5 separate regions of the Homo sapiens genome follow, and regions 2, 3, 4 and 5 are each linked to region 1. Evidence: promoter capture Hi-C in 16 types of primary human blood cells and fetal thymus (Javierre and others, 2016). All regions are on one chromosome and are shown on one strand. Each heading gives the region's core, a stretch centred on a gene start or on the middle of the fragment in contact. The rest is flanking DNA. Distances are from core to core; before and after follow the strand shown. Region 1 holds the start of MND1 (meiotic nuclear divisions 1). Region 2 overlaps TMEM131L (transmembrane 131 like). Region 3 overlaps TMEM131L (transmembrane 131 like). Region 4 overlaps TMEM131L (transmembrane 131 like). Region 5 has its middle 43 kb from the start of TRIM2.

What was found. Contacts are between HindIII fragments. The CHiCAGO score rates a contact against its expected background, and 5 or more counts as called.
Region 2: a contact is called between a fragment that was not itself captured here and the fragment with the promoter of MND1 in region 1, in 11 of 17 cell types (naive CD4 T cells, naive B cells, naive CD8 T cells and 8 more). The highest score is 11.6, in naive CD4 T cells.
Region 3: a contact is called between a fragment that was not itself captured here and the fragment with the promoter of MND1 in region 1, in 15 of 17 cell types (naive CD8 T cells, activated CD4 T cells, naive CD4 T cells and 12 more). The highest score is 18.2, in naive CD8 T cells.
Region 4: a fragment that was not itself captured here is called in contact with the fragment with the promoter of MND1 in region 1 in 15 of 17 cell types (naive CD4 T cells, activated CD4 T cells, naive CD8 T cells and 12 more); the score reaches 19.8 in naive CD4 T cells.
Region 5: a contact is called between a fragment that was not itself captured here and the fragment with the promoter of MND1 in region 1, in 1 of 17 cell types (endothelial precursors). The highest score is 6.0, in endothelial precursors.

What each region holds. Positions count from the first base shown.
Region 1 is chr4:153,343,394-153,346,277 of GRCh38, forward strand. It overlaps MND1 (meiotic nuclear divisions 1), which reads left to right and starts at 1,295. Exons shown (of 8, transcript NM_032117.4): 1 at 1,295-1,347. The coding sequence starts at 1,345. RefSeq lists silencers at 1,064-1,373, 1,504-1,663 and enhancers at 2,144-2,203, 2,284-2,403. The HindIII fragment of the contact is 6,712 bases long and covers 1-2,621 here.
Region 2 is chr4:153,514,778-153,517,575 of GRCh38, forward strand. All of the region lies in intron 3 of TMEM131L (transmembrane 131 like), which reads left to right. Among named protein-coding and RNA genes, the nearest start is that of TMEM131L, 50 kb to the left of the region's middle. The HindIII fragment of the contact is 2,996 bases long and covers 1-2,798 here.
Region 3 is chr4:153,556,421-153,559,120 of GRCh38, forward strand. TMEM131L (transmembrane 131 like) reads left to right here. Exons shown (of 35, transcript NM_001131007.2): 6 at 546-662; 7 at 1,838-1,948. Among named protein-coding and RNA genes, the nearest start is that of TMEM131L, 91 kb to the left of the region's middle. The HindIII fragment of the contact is 7,356 bases long and covers 1-2,700 here.
Region 4 is chr4:153,538,626-153,541,382 of GRCh38, forward strand. The region is part of intron 3 of TMEM131L (transmembrane 131 like); the gene reads left to right. All of the region lies in intron 1 of LOC105377498 (a long non-coding RNA gene), which reads right to left. Among named protein-coding and RNA genes, the nearest start is that of TMEM131L, 74 kb to the left of the region's middle. The HindIII fragment of the contact is 2,706 bases long and covers 116-2,757 here.
Region 5 is chr4:153,160,314-153,163,218 of GRCh38, forward strand. It overlaps a transcript of TRIM2 not described here. Among named protein-coding and RNA genes, the nearest start is that of TRIM2, 43 kb to the right of the region's middle. The HindIII fragment of the contact is 747 bases long and covers 978-1,724 here.

The sequences.
Region 1 (2,884 bases), core at 45-2,544:
CAATTAAGACAAGGCTTTCCCCAAGTAGCACAAATGTATATACCACTACTGTAGTTACTTAATGTACTCATTTATCATTTTAAAATTACCTTATGTACCATCAGTTACATGGTATAACTCTTACAGGAAAAACCAAATTAATGGAACTCTGCAATTCAATGTACCCCTTCCTCTGCCTCCAGCAGAAGCAACAGGGGACATAAATTCCAACTTTAGATGCTACTCTTATAGCATCTACAAGACTTACTACACTGTGTGTGTGTGTGTGTGTGTGTGTGCGTGCGTGTGTGTGTGTTACAGAGTCTCACTCTGTCGCCCAGGCTGGAGTGCAGTGGCGGGGTCTTGGCTCACTGCAACCTCTGCCTCCTGGGTCCAAGCGATTCTCCTGCCTCAGCCTCCCGAGTAGCTGGGATTGTACAGGCGTCCGCCACCACGCCTGGCTAATTTTTGTATTTTTATTAGAGATGGGATTTCACCATGTTGGCCAGGCTGGTCTCAAACTCCCTACCTCAAGTGATTTGCCCGCCTCGGCCTCCCAAATTGCTGGGATTACAGGTGTGAGCCACAGCGCCCAACCGTACTTCTTACACCTAAAAATGGTTCAAAACACCATAGAATAATTTTCAAAATAATTGAATTCTGAGTTAAAATTTTTCAGCACTTTCAGGGGCCTGAGCTTTTGCTATGAATCTGGATCTATTCTCAAGCCATGAAGTAGCGTATTTTTGACCATGTTGATTTGAAATTCATTCCGTTGTTTCCTTCTTTTTTAAAACCTAAGGGAAAAACAAACAGACATACACAGGATTTGAAAAGCTGGAAAGCAGTGGGTAGCGGCTCGGGAGAAGATGAGGGGTCAGATTAGAAGACGAGAAAGGAATCCAGTCCGCCCCAGACAGGACAAGTCCGGAAGGATGGAGGCAGCGTTTCCTTCCTCAACAGCCTAAACGCCTCTATTTTTTACATCCAAACTTAGGCCATATTTCTGCGGCGCCAAGAAAACGCAGTAAAAGCAAAGGCAAGATGTCCTTAAAAAAAAAAAAGGTCACATTCACAGAATACCGAGGAGACGGAGGCAGCTCTGCAACCCGTCCACTGAGACGCGGACACGCTCCCCACAGCCCCGGCCCCAGGCCCGCGCCCCTTCCCCCGCCGGCGGCTCGGATGGGTCGCTAGGGGTCGCTGCGCGCCGCGCGGGCGAGGACCGGCCTCTTTCCCCCACCTCCACCGTCTCGCTGCTCCGCCCCCGCGGCGTAGTCGGCGCCAAAATCAAACGCGTCCTGGCCTGTCCCGCCCCTCTCCCCAAGCGCGGGCCCGGCCAGCGGAAGCCCCTGCGCCCGCGCCATGGTAAGGACTGAGGCTACGGTCCCGCGTCTTCTTCCTCCCTAGTGTGTGGGCTTCGCCGCCCCTCGGCTGCATGTGGATCCCGGCCTGGCGTTGACCGCCATTCCGGGCCGCGGGAGCGGTCGCCCGGCTCTCGGCCTCACCGTGTAGGGGCCCAGCCCGGCCCCGCCGCAGCCACTCCGCACTCTGCGGCGTTCCCCGCCGCTCCTGTCCGGAGTCCCGAGGCGCGGGGGCATCCGCGGCCTCCCCGCCGGCTGCACCCCGCGTCTGTCCCCAGGGCCCGTTCGGGCGGGTTAGGTTAGAACGCGGGAAGCGTTCGCGAACGTGACCCGAGAACTTCACCAACCTGGATTTATCTAAAAGACCACGGGGCCCTTGAGAACCTGGGCTCCCTACGCCTCCAGCTTCGGCCCCGCGTGGTGTAGCCCCCCCCATTAAGAACGGGGAGAGAAAGCGCAAGTGGGCGGGAGGGACTGCGGGGAGCGAACGTCTTGATCCCAAAGCGCACTCCTGGTTTGTCACCATTGAGTGGTTTTCTGTATTGTAATATGTAGAGCACATTCCAGAACTGCTCAGTTTCGAGTTACCTAATGGATCTTCACTGTGTGCCAATTAGTCGATTTCTGTGAAAACGCCCCGGTTTCTGCCAAAGGGCAGGAGTCGCTGCTCTTGTGCCGGGTGCTGCTGGTTGTGTAGGGCGCTGTTGCTTTTTTAAGGACGCTCTGCACTGAATTAGGCTTCCTCGTGGGTCATGATCAGTTAAGTCCTGGTAAGATCGGCTTTGTGAGCTTAACGTCTTTCTGCTCATCAAATCATTTTCATAAACCTTCAAAGTTTCATGCCGTTTTTTCTGCTTCAGTTGGCGAAGAATCAACATCTGGTTAAATGGATCTAAGATTTTAATATCTTCATTTACTTACGTGGCCGTTAAATGTTGCCGAGCTAAGGGGGGCAGGGTGGGACACCAGGATCCAGTTGTATGGTATTTATTTGAAGATATTTGTCCAGATGTAGTTATAAATGATAACGGCTTCTTTGTGGTTAAACTAACAACCCAGCCACCTGGGCGTGAAGTGCTCTAAGGAGCCAAACAGGACTACAGTTAAAACAAATCTGTTAGCAGTGCCCTTCTGTGTTACAATTTTTCTCTGCAGAGTTGCTGGCCTCGTATAACTGACTTGGAGAACTGTGCAGCTCAAACGCGCGTTGTCCTTTTACCTAATCTATCTCTCTACACATGAATCACCTGCTAATACTAAATGTGTTAACTCTTTAGAAGCTTACCTCCGATAATAGAGAATCCTTTTAAAAAATTAAAGCTTTTGATAAGATGTGGACTTCCTATTTTTTAATATGTGATCGAGAAATAAATTTAGTGTTGGTCAAAGGTAAACTTTTGATTGATTATGAATTAATAGCTGTTTTCATTTGGTTAGGCATCCTAAGTAAATAGTTAATGAGTTCAGGCAATTTTTGAAATTGGAGAAGTGCAGTGCTGAACTCTGAGAGCAGCAGTGATGTCTACTTAATAATTCTTCAT
Region 2 (2,798 bases), core at 129-2,628, 170 kb after region 1:
AGAATCCCACATTCACATTACTTCACCCTGTTTTTTTCTTTTCTTTTTTTTTTGAGATGGAGTCTCGCTCTGTCCCCCAGGCTGGAGTGTGGTGACGCAATCGTGGCTCACTGCAACTTCCGCCTCCTGGGTTCAAGCAATTCTCTGCCTCGGCCTCCCGGATAGCTGGGATTATAGGCGCCTGCCACCACACTCGGCTTATTTTGTATTTTTAGTAGAGACAGGGGTCTCCCCATGTTGGCCAGGCTGGTCTCGAACTCCCGACCTCAGGTGATCCACCTGCCTCGGCCTCCCGAAGTGCTGGGATTGCAGGCATTAGCCACCGTGCTCAGCCTACTTCACCCTTTTAAAGCATACAATTCAGTGGTTTTTAATATATTCATAGTTTTGCAACTATCACTGCTATCGAATTTCAGAAATTTTCATCAACTTATTAGAAAACACCACTCCCATCAAGCAGTCACTTCCTGCCCCTGGCCACCACTCCATTCCCCTGACAACCTCTAATCTACTTTCTGTCTCTATAAATTTGCCTGTTCTGAATATTTCATATAAATAGAATCATGTAGCATGTGGCCTTTTTTGACTGACTTCTATTTAGCTTAATGTTTTCGGGGTTTACCACATGGCATGTAACAATACTTTATTCCTTTCTGCTGCCAAACAATATTCCATTGTATAGATAGATCACATTTTATTCATCATTTGTACATTTGGATTGTTTCCAATTATTGGCTATTATGAATAATGCTGTGAACATTTGTGTGCAAGTGTTTGTGTGGACGTATGTTTTCAATTCTATTGGTTATATATCTACGAGTGGTATTGCTGGTTTATATGGTAACTTTATGTGTTCCATTTTGAGGAACTGCCAAATTGTTTTCCAAAGTAGTTGTACCATACCTTACTTTTCATACATGACTTTTCTACAGGTAAAGTATGATAGTTGCAATTTTTCTACATTCTCACCAACCAACAGTTAATAGATGAGTTTATTATAGCCCTTCTAGAGGGTGCGATGTGGTATCATTGTTTTGATTTGCATTTTTCTAATCATGTTGAGCCTCTTTTCTATGTGCTCATTGACCATTTGTATATATTCTTTGGAGAAATGTCTGTTCAAATCCTCTGCCCATTTTTTTTTTTTTTTAAAGATAGGGTCTCACTGTGTTGCCCAGGCTGATCTCAAGTGATCCTCCCATCTTGACCTCACACAGCGTTGGGATTATAGACGTGAGCCACTGGTCTCAGCTCAAATCCTTTGCCCATTTTTACGTTAGATTAATTGTATTTTTATTTTTGAGTCATGTACTATAAATGGTATGTTATTTTTATATATTTTTAAATGAGATTAAATGACAATTTTGTAAGTTGCTTTTTAAACTTAATAATCTTCCCATGTCTATATCTAAGTACATCAGTTTTACTGACTGCCTTATAGTTCATTATATGAATGTTCTATAATTTTAAAATCTAATTCTTTGTTTTTTCACCCAGGCTGGATTGCAGTGGCAAGATCTTGGCTCACTGCAGCTTCCACCTCCCAGGCTCAAGCGATCCTCCCACCTCAGCCTCCCAAGTAGCTGAAACTAGAGGCATGCACCACTGTGCCGGGCTAATTGTTATATATTTTTTAGAGACAGGGTTTCGCCATATTACCCAGGCTCGTCTTGAAATCCTGGGCTCAAACAATTCACCTGCCTCAGCCTCCCAAAGTGCTGGGATTACAGATGTGAGCCACTGTGCCTAGCCCTAAAATCGAATTCTTTATACGTGAAGTTTATTTAAAAGGAAAGAAAACCCCACCAGGCTATATCTACATTTGAATGCTTGTGCAATCATTTCTTTAGGATACATTACTAGAACTGGAATTGCTGGGTCAAAAAGTGGGCATGCTTCAAGGCCTTTGAAAAATATTCTGTACTTGCCCTCCAGAAAGGTTGTTTCAGTTATACCCTTATGCTAATGTCTTGAGATTGTCAGTTTCTTACGAGCCTCCCAGCACTAGGTACCAGTACTTTTTGTTCATCTTTTAAATTTTATTTATTTATTATTATTATTCTTTTGAGACGGAGTCTTGCTCCGTCACTTAGGCTGGAGTGCAGTGGGGGCGATCTTGGCTCACTGCAACCTCCGCATCCCGGGTTCCAACGATTCTCCTGCCTCAGGCTCCTGAGTAGCTGGGATTACAGGTGCGCGCCACCATGCCTGGCTAATTTTTGTATTTTTAGTAGAGATGGGGTTTCACCGTGTTGGCCAGGCTGGTCTCAAACTCCTGACCTCATGATCCACCCACCTCGGCCTCCCGGAGTGCTGGGATTACAGGCGTGAGCCACCACGCCTGGCCAGCTCATCTTTTAAATTTTAATCTAAGAGGTCCAAATTGGTATTATATACTTCTTTTAGTTTGCATGTACTTATGAAGATGAAGTTGGTTGAAGTTTCCTTTGTTTCCACCATTGGACTTATTTGCTATGCCTGGAGATCACTTCCTGTGCCGCCTCCAGACCTCTGCTGGGACATCCCTTAATCTAGGAAGCATTTCCCACCTCTTCCCTCAACTGCACAGGCACAGACATGTTCTCTCATCCTCCCTTGCACGGGTCCTTTACAAGGCCCTGGGCGGGTTCCTAGGAATGTTTTTACATGACTGTGTTTTTTATTAAGTCTTCAGAAGTAATATATAGTGTGTATTTTTTTTTCCTTTAAAATACTCCACTTTGCCCTCTCACATAAGTTTCAGAGCTCCATAAAACCTGGATCTGCCCTGCCTGGGACATTAGGTGTCGAATGTAATG
Region 3 (2,700 bases), core at 111-2,610, 210 kb after region 1:
ATTTCAGTGGTCTTTAACATTTAGTGAAGATCCTAATTGCTAGTAGGCTTTTATTTATTTTGCTTACTATGTCTGCCTGATATTATGTACTTAAAAAAAAAACTAGGACTAAGGATATGTTGTAAGGGGAAGCCCAATATTTGGTTTATGACAGTCTGTCTGGGTAAACGTTGTTCCTGATTTTTATTACATATCAACATGTTTGCACGTTGGTTATTGTCTATATTTAAGTAGAGATAGAACTGTGTTAGCTAAAGACAGTTGGACCTGTGGAGGTGGAAGAGGAGGGGAAGGAAAGATGTGAGACTCACAGCTCCAGTCTGAAGCGAAAGGATTCATCCTAAGTTAGTGGTAATATTTGCTATATCTAAGAGCAGATAATTGGATGCTGATCAGTTTGGGGATTCTTAGGGATTCATAATACTGATAAGGGTGCACAATATACAAATGTCTGTTAACAGAAATTGTCAAAAAAAGAAAGTCTGTGAAAGACAGTTTATCAAAGGAGGCCATTCCAAGTGGCTGACTGGGGACCTTTCTTTCAGGTAATTCCAGCAATGGGGAAAACTTCCTTCAGAATTATTTTCTTACCTACTGAAGAAGGAAGCATTGAAAGTTCCTTATTTATTAATACCTCTTCGTATGGAGTCCTTTCCTATCATGTGAGTAACTTTTTCCTTTTGTCACAACTTTGGTTGGTGACTTAACTGTAGGGGTGTGTGTGTATATTTTTAAAAAGACTTTTGGAAATGTTGTCACCTGGTTTATGTCGTTAAAATACAAGACTGTTAGTGATGTTAAAATCATCAGCATTCACCCTTTTCTGCCTGACATGCCACAGTTGGCTGGCTTTCCTACTGATGACGGAGCTATAGTCCTACTGTGGGTCTTTGGAGGATACTAGAACAAAGCAAAGCAATCTGTCACACAGTTTCCCATCATAAAATACAGAAGGCTTTCAAAACTCATGGCTCTCACCTCACGGGCGTTCAGAAGGAGGTGCTCTAAGGACAGTCTCTAGTGATTTTGCCTACCTTCCCTCTTTGGCTCAGGAATATTTCTAATTAGGAGACATTGATTGTGTGCTTGGAGGCTGGTTCCAAGGGAGCTCACTATTCATATCAAGGTACCAGGAAGGGAGCTTGAAGAATCTTGTTGCTATTCTCAGAAATAGGAATCTTTACCTTAAATGGTACCTGATATGGCATTTAACAAGATCTGGCATCAAGTAATTTAAGTTCCAAGATCAGTAATTTTTGTGGTTATTTCTTACTGGATTCCATTAAAGAGGTCCCATATCAGAAGAGTTGCCTACTTGTGAACAGATTTGCTACAGTGAGGAACATTCAGCTTAAATACAGCATTCTAATCTGTTTCATTTTTTATTTTTTAGTTTTTGAGGCAGGGTCTCACTTTGTTGCCCAGGCTGGAGTGCAGTGGTGTGATCAGGCTGACTGCAGCCACCTCCCAGGCACAAGCGATTCTCCTGCCTCAGCCTCCCACCACTGCCTGGCTAATTTTTGTATTTTTAGCAGAAACAGGCTTTCACCATGTTGGCCAGGCTGGTCTCAAACTCCTGTCCTCAAATGATCCACCTCCCTGGGCCTCCCAAAGTGTTGGGATTACAGGCGTGAGCCACCGTGCTCAGCCAGCATTCTGCATTTCTGAAACATTCATTGTGTTTTTTGTAGACAAAGATAAATAAAATAATTGGATTAGTAGAGTCTTGAAGGCCATGCTGATGAATACAGATTTCCTTTGGAGACGTGCTTTAGCATTATGGCAAATGTGTTTTAAAACTCTTAACAGAGGAGCAATTCTCTCTCTTTTTCCGCAGGTATCTGGAATTGGCACTCGTAGAATCTCTACAGAAGGGTCTGCAAAGCAGCTACCAAATGCTTATTTTCTGCTTCCAAAGGTCCAGAGCATTCAGCTGTCTCAAATGCAGGTCATTTTAATAGATTTACTTTGAATGCTGGTGGCCACCAAACTTTGTAACCTTCTCAGAATTGGTTATTTTACTATTTTCTGCTTTTTGAAAAAATTATATAGAAGTAATATACATATATAAAATATCAGTGGATTCCACCTAACTTCTTTTTAATGGCTGTGGAGTTCACAGTGTTGATATTCCAGAGTTTGCTTAATCTTATTGTTGGTCTTTTGAAATGTTTCCTGTTTTTCACTGTTATTACCGTTAGGCCATATACCTATTTTATAAGTTTCTTTAATTTTCCTTCTGAATCCTCTGTTTCCTTGGGGCATGTTTCATAAAGAGGAGAGATTCTTTAGTTAAAGACTGTGAACGATTTTGTAGAGCTTGTTAAATCTTACCAGCTTGCTTTTCAGGGAGGCAGCCCCCATGGTCACAAGTAATAACAGGCCCCTAAGGATGTCCTGCTTTTAGCCCTGCCCGGATGGGGCTTGGTGGGAAGAACTATTTCTGATGTTATAGTAGATGTATAATGATAAGTTTAAATTCTTTTAATATACATTTCATGAATCATTTTATAGGGTTGGCTACTTTTTCCCTTTGATTATCCATATTTCCTTGTAACTGGATAATTTTATAATTGAGAAAAGCTCTTGAACCAATATATTATGAAACTTACCTCTTCTTTCTGATTGGTAAATAAAGAACATTGCTTAGAATTTGTAGTCAGTACCATTAGTACCTGGGGCTTTCATTCATTCAGCGGT
Region 4 (2,757 bases), core at 219-2,718, 200 kb after region 1:
CAGGGCAAGCAGGGGCTGGAGTGATGAGGCCATGTAGTATTAGTTCCGCTGAGCAGCTGCTGCTGGCAATTTCTGGTGTTGGAAAAGAATGGGAAGCTGTTCCAGTTAGAATTAAAGCTTACATCTTAAGAGAGTGTTTTCTCTCTCCTGAGAGAGTCTGCAGATATGCAGCCGCTGGCTCCAGGAAGTCTTTAGGGACCCCACGTCGCCTTCCCCAGGGTACTGGGATCTCCTACTCGTGGGACAAGGTGGAGACGTTTGTTTTCCTGGCAGCAGTTTGGAAACTGCCGGCGCGATACTTCGGCTTTCACCCCATTTGCTGGAACTTAGTCCCGTGGCCGTACCCAGATGCAGAGAAGCCTTGGAAATATGCCCACTTAAAAATTCCATTATGTGAAAGAAGACGAGAAGGGGGGATATTAGGGGCCAAAGAGCAACCTCTGTCACAGAACCTTGGGAAAGAAACAGTGAGATCTTTACCATTATTTCTCAAGGAAAAATTGCTTTTCATACAACATATGTTTAAGTCACATACCTCCCCCAAAAGGGGGGGAGGCGGAAAAAAACCCAACAAAACAAACACCCAGCAGTCCTCTGACTTGTGTTAAGGAGTCCTTGTTTTTCTGGGCACACTCTAGACTGGTTTCTCCAGTGCCAGTGTTTGTTGGGTTTCATATAAGAAAAATCGTTTTTAAAGTCCTCCTCTGACAGTGGGGTTATATTATATAAGTGAGCTTGGTGATAGTAAATTATACTTTATGGGCAAGTGTGTGGTCTATGCTAGTCTGCTGAATGGACAGCATGAAACTTCAATTAAAAAGGTTTCTGCTGCATTCCGTTTTAAAAACATTATGTTCAGAGGCTAGATTTTTTTTTTTTTTTTTTTTTTTTTTGAGGAGAGAAGACTTAACTTTTTGAATAATGACATATTGTCTGGGTATTCTGAGAGATGGGACTGGGCCCTGGTGGAGTGAAACACTGATATACATGTTAGTATTGTGCTCGACTGTAACAGCTGCTGTGAAGCAGGAGGCTCCCTTGCTCCTGCCGGCTCCTTTACTCATGAGGCTGGTCCTTCAAAGAATAGTTAGAAATTTTTCATTAGATTTTTCTGGCAATCTTGTTAACATTCTTTGTATTTGTCTGAAGATCATTTTGAGATATTTGCTCATATTGGGACTTTAAAAAAAAAACACCTGTCAGGGCCGGGCACGGTGGCTTACGCCTGTAATTCCAGCACTATGGGAGGCCGAGGCAGGCGGATCCCCTGAGGTTGAGAGTTCCAGACCAGCCTGACCAACGTGGAGAAACCCCGTCTCTACTAAAAATACAAAATTAGCCGGGCATGGTGGCGGGTGCCTGTAATCCCAGCTACTGGGGAAGGCTGAGGCAGGAGAATTGCTTGAACCCGGGAGGCGGAGGTTGCAGTGAGCTGAGATCGCGCCACTGCCCTCCAGCCTGGGCAACAAGAGTGAAACTTTGTCTCAAAAATAAAAACAAAAAAACAAAAAAAAAAACCCCAAAACAAAAAACATCTGTCAGTTCAGTGTGTTTTAGTAAAATATTATTCCGGGTCATAAAGTTACATAGGATTGTTCTTCGGTCCTACTGAGAAACTCTAGAAATTAATTATCTTTTGTACTTCACTTTTTATCTTATCAGCCTTTCTGTGATCTGTATGCCTTAACTTGTGTTTTTTCACTTCGTTAAAACTCTTCCTCCAGCCTTACCTGAAGACAGCACGTTCAGCCTTCTAGATCCTACTCAAATGCCACCTCTTCCAAAAGGCATTTCCTAACCTATTCCACGCCAGGTGATCTCTTCCTCTTGTGGATACTTAAAGTACTGTGGACTGTGCTCTCCCTTGTATCATATGTGTTATGTATTGTAGGAGGTGTGTGATACATACATAACACTGTGAGCCTGTGAAAGTTAGGCAGCCTGTTTTTATTTGCCTTTGGGGATTTCTGAATCTAACTGCCTTGGGTAGATAGAAGAAATGAATGTTGGTGGGATTTGGCATGTCTGCCTTTACAGTATGAATAAGTTCAGCTACCAAGTTGCTTAAAGTGTTATAGATGAGCTTTAAAACGTGGCTAGTGCACCTTTAGGAAACTAATAACTTAAATTTTTATGGACACTTTGAGAACTCACGGTTGGTTTTCTAAAAATAACATGCACGGTAATGCATGAGCTTGCATTGTCCACCCATGATCAAAGAGGAAAAAGTCCTTCATCCCTAGACTCCCTTATCTGCTTAGGGTTCGTGTGAATTTCTGCTTTGGCTTCTTTTTTTTATGTATAGTGTCTGGCAAACTCTGTTAATGCTGGAGGTATCTAATACTGAATGTTCGTGCTAACTTGTCCTAGAGCTGAAAGGTAATGCAAAATGTATTTTGTATTTTGCAGATGTTATAATCACATTTCATTATTTTAACATATAGTAGAGTGACCTACCCTAGCGTCTAGGAAAGATGTCAAATCTTTAAACCACAGAGGAGAAGCCATGAAAGTAAGGAGAAAGTTGGAATGGGAGTTGGAGTAAGGAGAAAGTTGGGATGGGAGTTGGGGAAATGTGAGCTTAATTGCTGGCCTATTCTTTAATAGGGTTTTGCAAAGTCCTTTAACTAGTTGGCTAAAGTAGATCTTTATAGTATGTGGAATGTGGTAAGAGTAAATATGTAAATATAATAATGTATTTTAAAATTCTTTGAATTGGAGAGAAAATGCCTTTTGGTCCTCATGGAATGTGGGGGT
Region 5 (2,905 bases), core at 101-2,600, 180 kb before region 1:
CAACAAAGCTTCAAGGTTCTAGAAATAAGCGCTTTTGAGACAGGCGAGCAAAAATCACCAATCTCATTAGCTTCTCCAAAGGAAACAAATAAGTCTTGTGAGCTACTACTGGGATTTTTAGAGTTTTCCAGGCCTCATTTTAAAGAGATGGGGACTCACTGTGTTGTCCAGGCTGATCTTGAACTCCTGGCCTCAAGGCATCCTCCCACTTCAGCCTCCCAAAGTGCTGGGATTATAGGCATGAGCCACCATGCTGGCCATCTAGGCTTCAAGGGATGTTTGTTTGTTTGTTTGTTTGGAGACAAGGTTCCCACCCTGTTGCCCAAGCTGGAGTACAGTAATGTGATCATGGCTCACTGCAGCCTCAACCTCTCAGGCTCAAGCGATCCTTATACTTCAGCCTCCCAAGTAGCTGGGACTATAGGCATGCACCACCACACCTGGCTAATTTTTAAAATTTATTTTTTTCATAGAGACAAGGGTCTCTGTATGTTGCCCGGGGCTGATCTCAAACTCCTGGGCCGAAGTGATCTGAGCCTCCTGCTTTAGCCTCCCGAAGTGCTGCAGTTACAGGCGTGAGCCACCATGCCTGGCCAGGCTTCATTTTTAAAAAGGGGAGGGGAGGGTTGGGAGCTAGCTCTCTGGCTCACAAACAATAATGACTTCAATTTCTGTTCTTTCAATTGATTTTTATGTTTCCCTGGGAGGGAGAGGAAGACTAGGCATGCTCATCTTGCCAAAGTGATTAACTCTTCATTGGCCAGCCTCTTTGGACACCCATTTACTGCTCATTCTCTAGTATTCTAAGGAACAAAGATTTTGTTGTACTTTAAACTAAAATAGCTTGTTTGTTCTAAGAACGTAATACTAAATTTTGAGATGGAGACTGTATTTATACAGAAACACTTTGCAAGCAAATGTTTATAACCAGCCCCTACTGCTTTTACAAGCACAGAGATGAATCAAATATACACAAAAGCTTTGTGCTAGAAAGAACCTCCATGAATTGAACGTACGTGCTATATGGTAGGCATCATTCTTGTCACTGTGCATGCATGATCCCATTCAGCCTTAACAGTTATCCTATGAAAAGTTATTATCCTCGTTTTAGAGATGAGAAAACTGAGACTTAGAGAGATTGAGTACATTTGCAAAGTCGCTAGCTGTTAAAAAGCAGGTGCAGGAGTTGGAGTCATGTCTGTCTGAATTTAAAGCCGTTGCTTTTCCTGATATACTCTGCATATGACATGATGCACAGCAGAATCCTTGGGAATATTCTGCTCCCCTTGGAGTTCCCTGCTTAGTGAGTGCTTCGTGCTCAAAGAACTCTCACAGACAACGCTAGTACACTTATTAGTTTTCTTTGTATCCTTTGGTTCTCACAGGCCAACTGCTACAAGGCAGGTCCAACAAATTTCCTAGATGACTGAATATTGGGCAGTATTCCAAGGTGGTCAATTATGTCTAAGACTCACACAAAAGCATTAGCAAGGATTGCTCCATGGATCAAGAGCAAATCAATGTACAATTGTCCTCTGCAGCTAACTTATTAGGGAACATAAAGTTGCAATATTTCACTGGAAACTTCCATCCACTAGAAAAAAATGAGTGCTTAAGCAAATATGGCCAGACTCTGATTATGATTAAGCATAAACCTCCGAAATGAAATTCGTGTGTACATTCTCTCTGCGTGGGACCAATTTGGCCAGCTTACTTTAAGGAAAAGCTTTCTGTTGTCTGCATTCTTGCCAAATTTCTAAACTTTCAAGGGTAAGGACTGTAGTTTTAACTCTTTATTCTGGCATTTAGTCATTTAGCTTACTGCTTGGCATATAGTACATCTTCAAGAAATACTTGTTTGGATTGAGTGTATCAGGGTTCTCCAGAAAAACAGAACCAGTGGGAAATATATACATATAGATATATAGATGATATAGATATAGATGATATGGATATTGATATATACAGAGATTTATTATAAGGAATTGGCTCATATGATTATGGAGATAGACAAGTCCAATCTGTAGGATGGGGCAGCATGCTAGAGACCCAAGGAAAGCCAGAGTTCCAATTCCAAGGCCTTCAGTCAGAAAGAGCTGATGCTTCAGCTGAAGTCCACAGACCATCTGCTGGAAAGTTCTCTCTTACACAGGAAAGCATTCATCCTTTTGTTCTAGTGACACCTGCATTAGTTAAATAAGATCCACCCACATTATGGAGGGCAATCTTCTTTACTGATGAAAACGCTAATCTCAGGCAAAAAGACCCCCATAGAAATACCCAGAATAATGTTTGACCAAATATCTGGGCACTGCATGGCTCAGGCACATAGACACATAAAATTAGCCATTACAATGAGTGAATGAGTAAATAAGAAACAGTAGTTTCTGAACTGTGGCAGAGCAAGTGGACTTCAGGCATTGGCCTCTGTTGTAGCCTTGAGTTATACCACACCTCAGTAATAGGAAGAGCTCTTCTTTCCAGTGAGGCAGCACCAACAGACTATAGGGCTTGAACCCAAGATGCCACCTGAGGGGAATTCTCATGTGGCCACTTGTGTCCAAGTGATCAGTTACCACTGAATTATGTGAATTAAAGAAACAGGTTGGGACATGGACCATGCTCTCCAGAACTGAGGGTGAAAAGGGTGTCTTTCTAAGAGGTAAGATTTTTTGGAAGTGGAATCCTATCATGTAAGACCCTAGTTTTTCTAAGAATTTGTGGGAAAAAAATAACCTTTACCTGAGTGTATGTAGCCACATTTGACTGCTTTGTTTAGTTGATTTAATGCAACTCAGTGGTTACTGTAAATATCTGAAACTTGTAGATTATTGCTTCTCTAAAATTATAATGGGATCCATTTCTAGATTTACATCATTTTTTTTTCTTTGAGACAGGGTCTTGC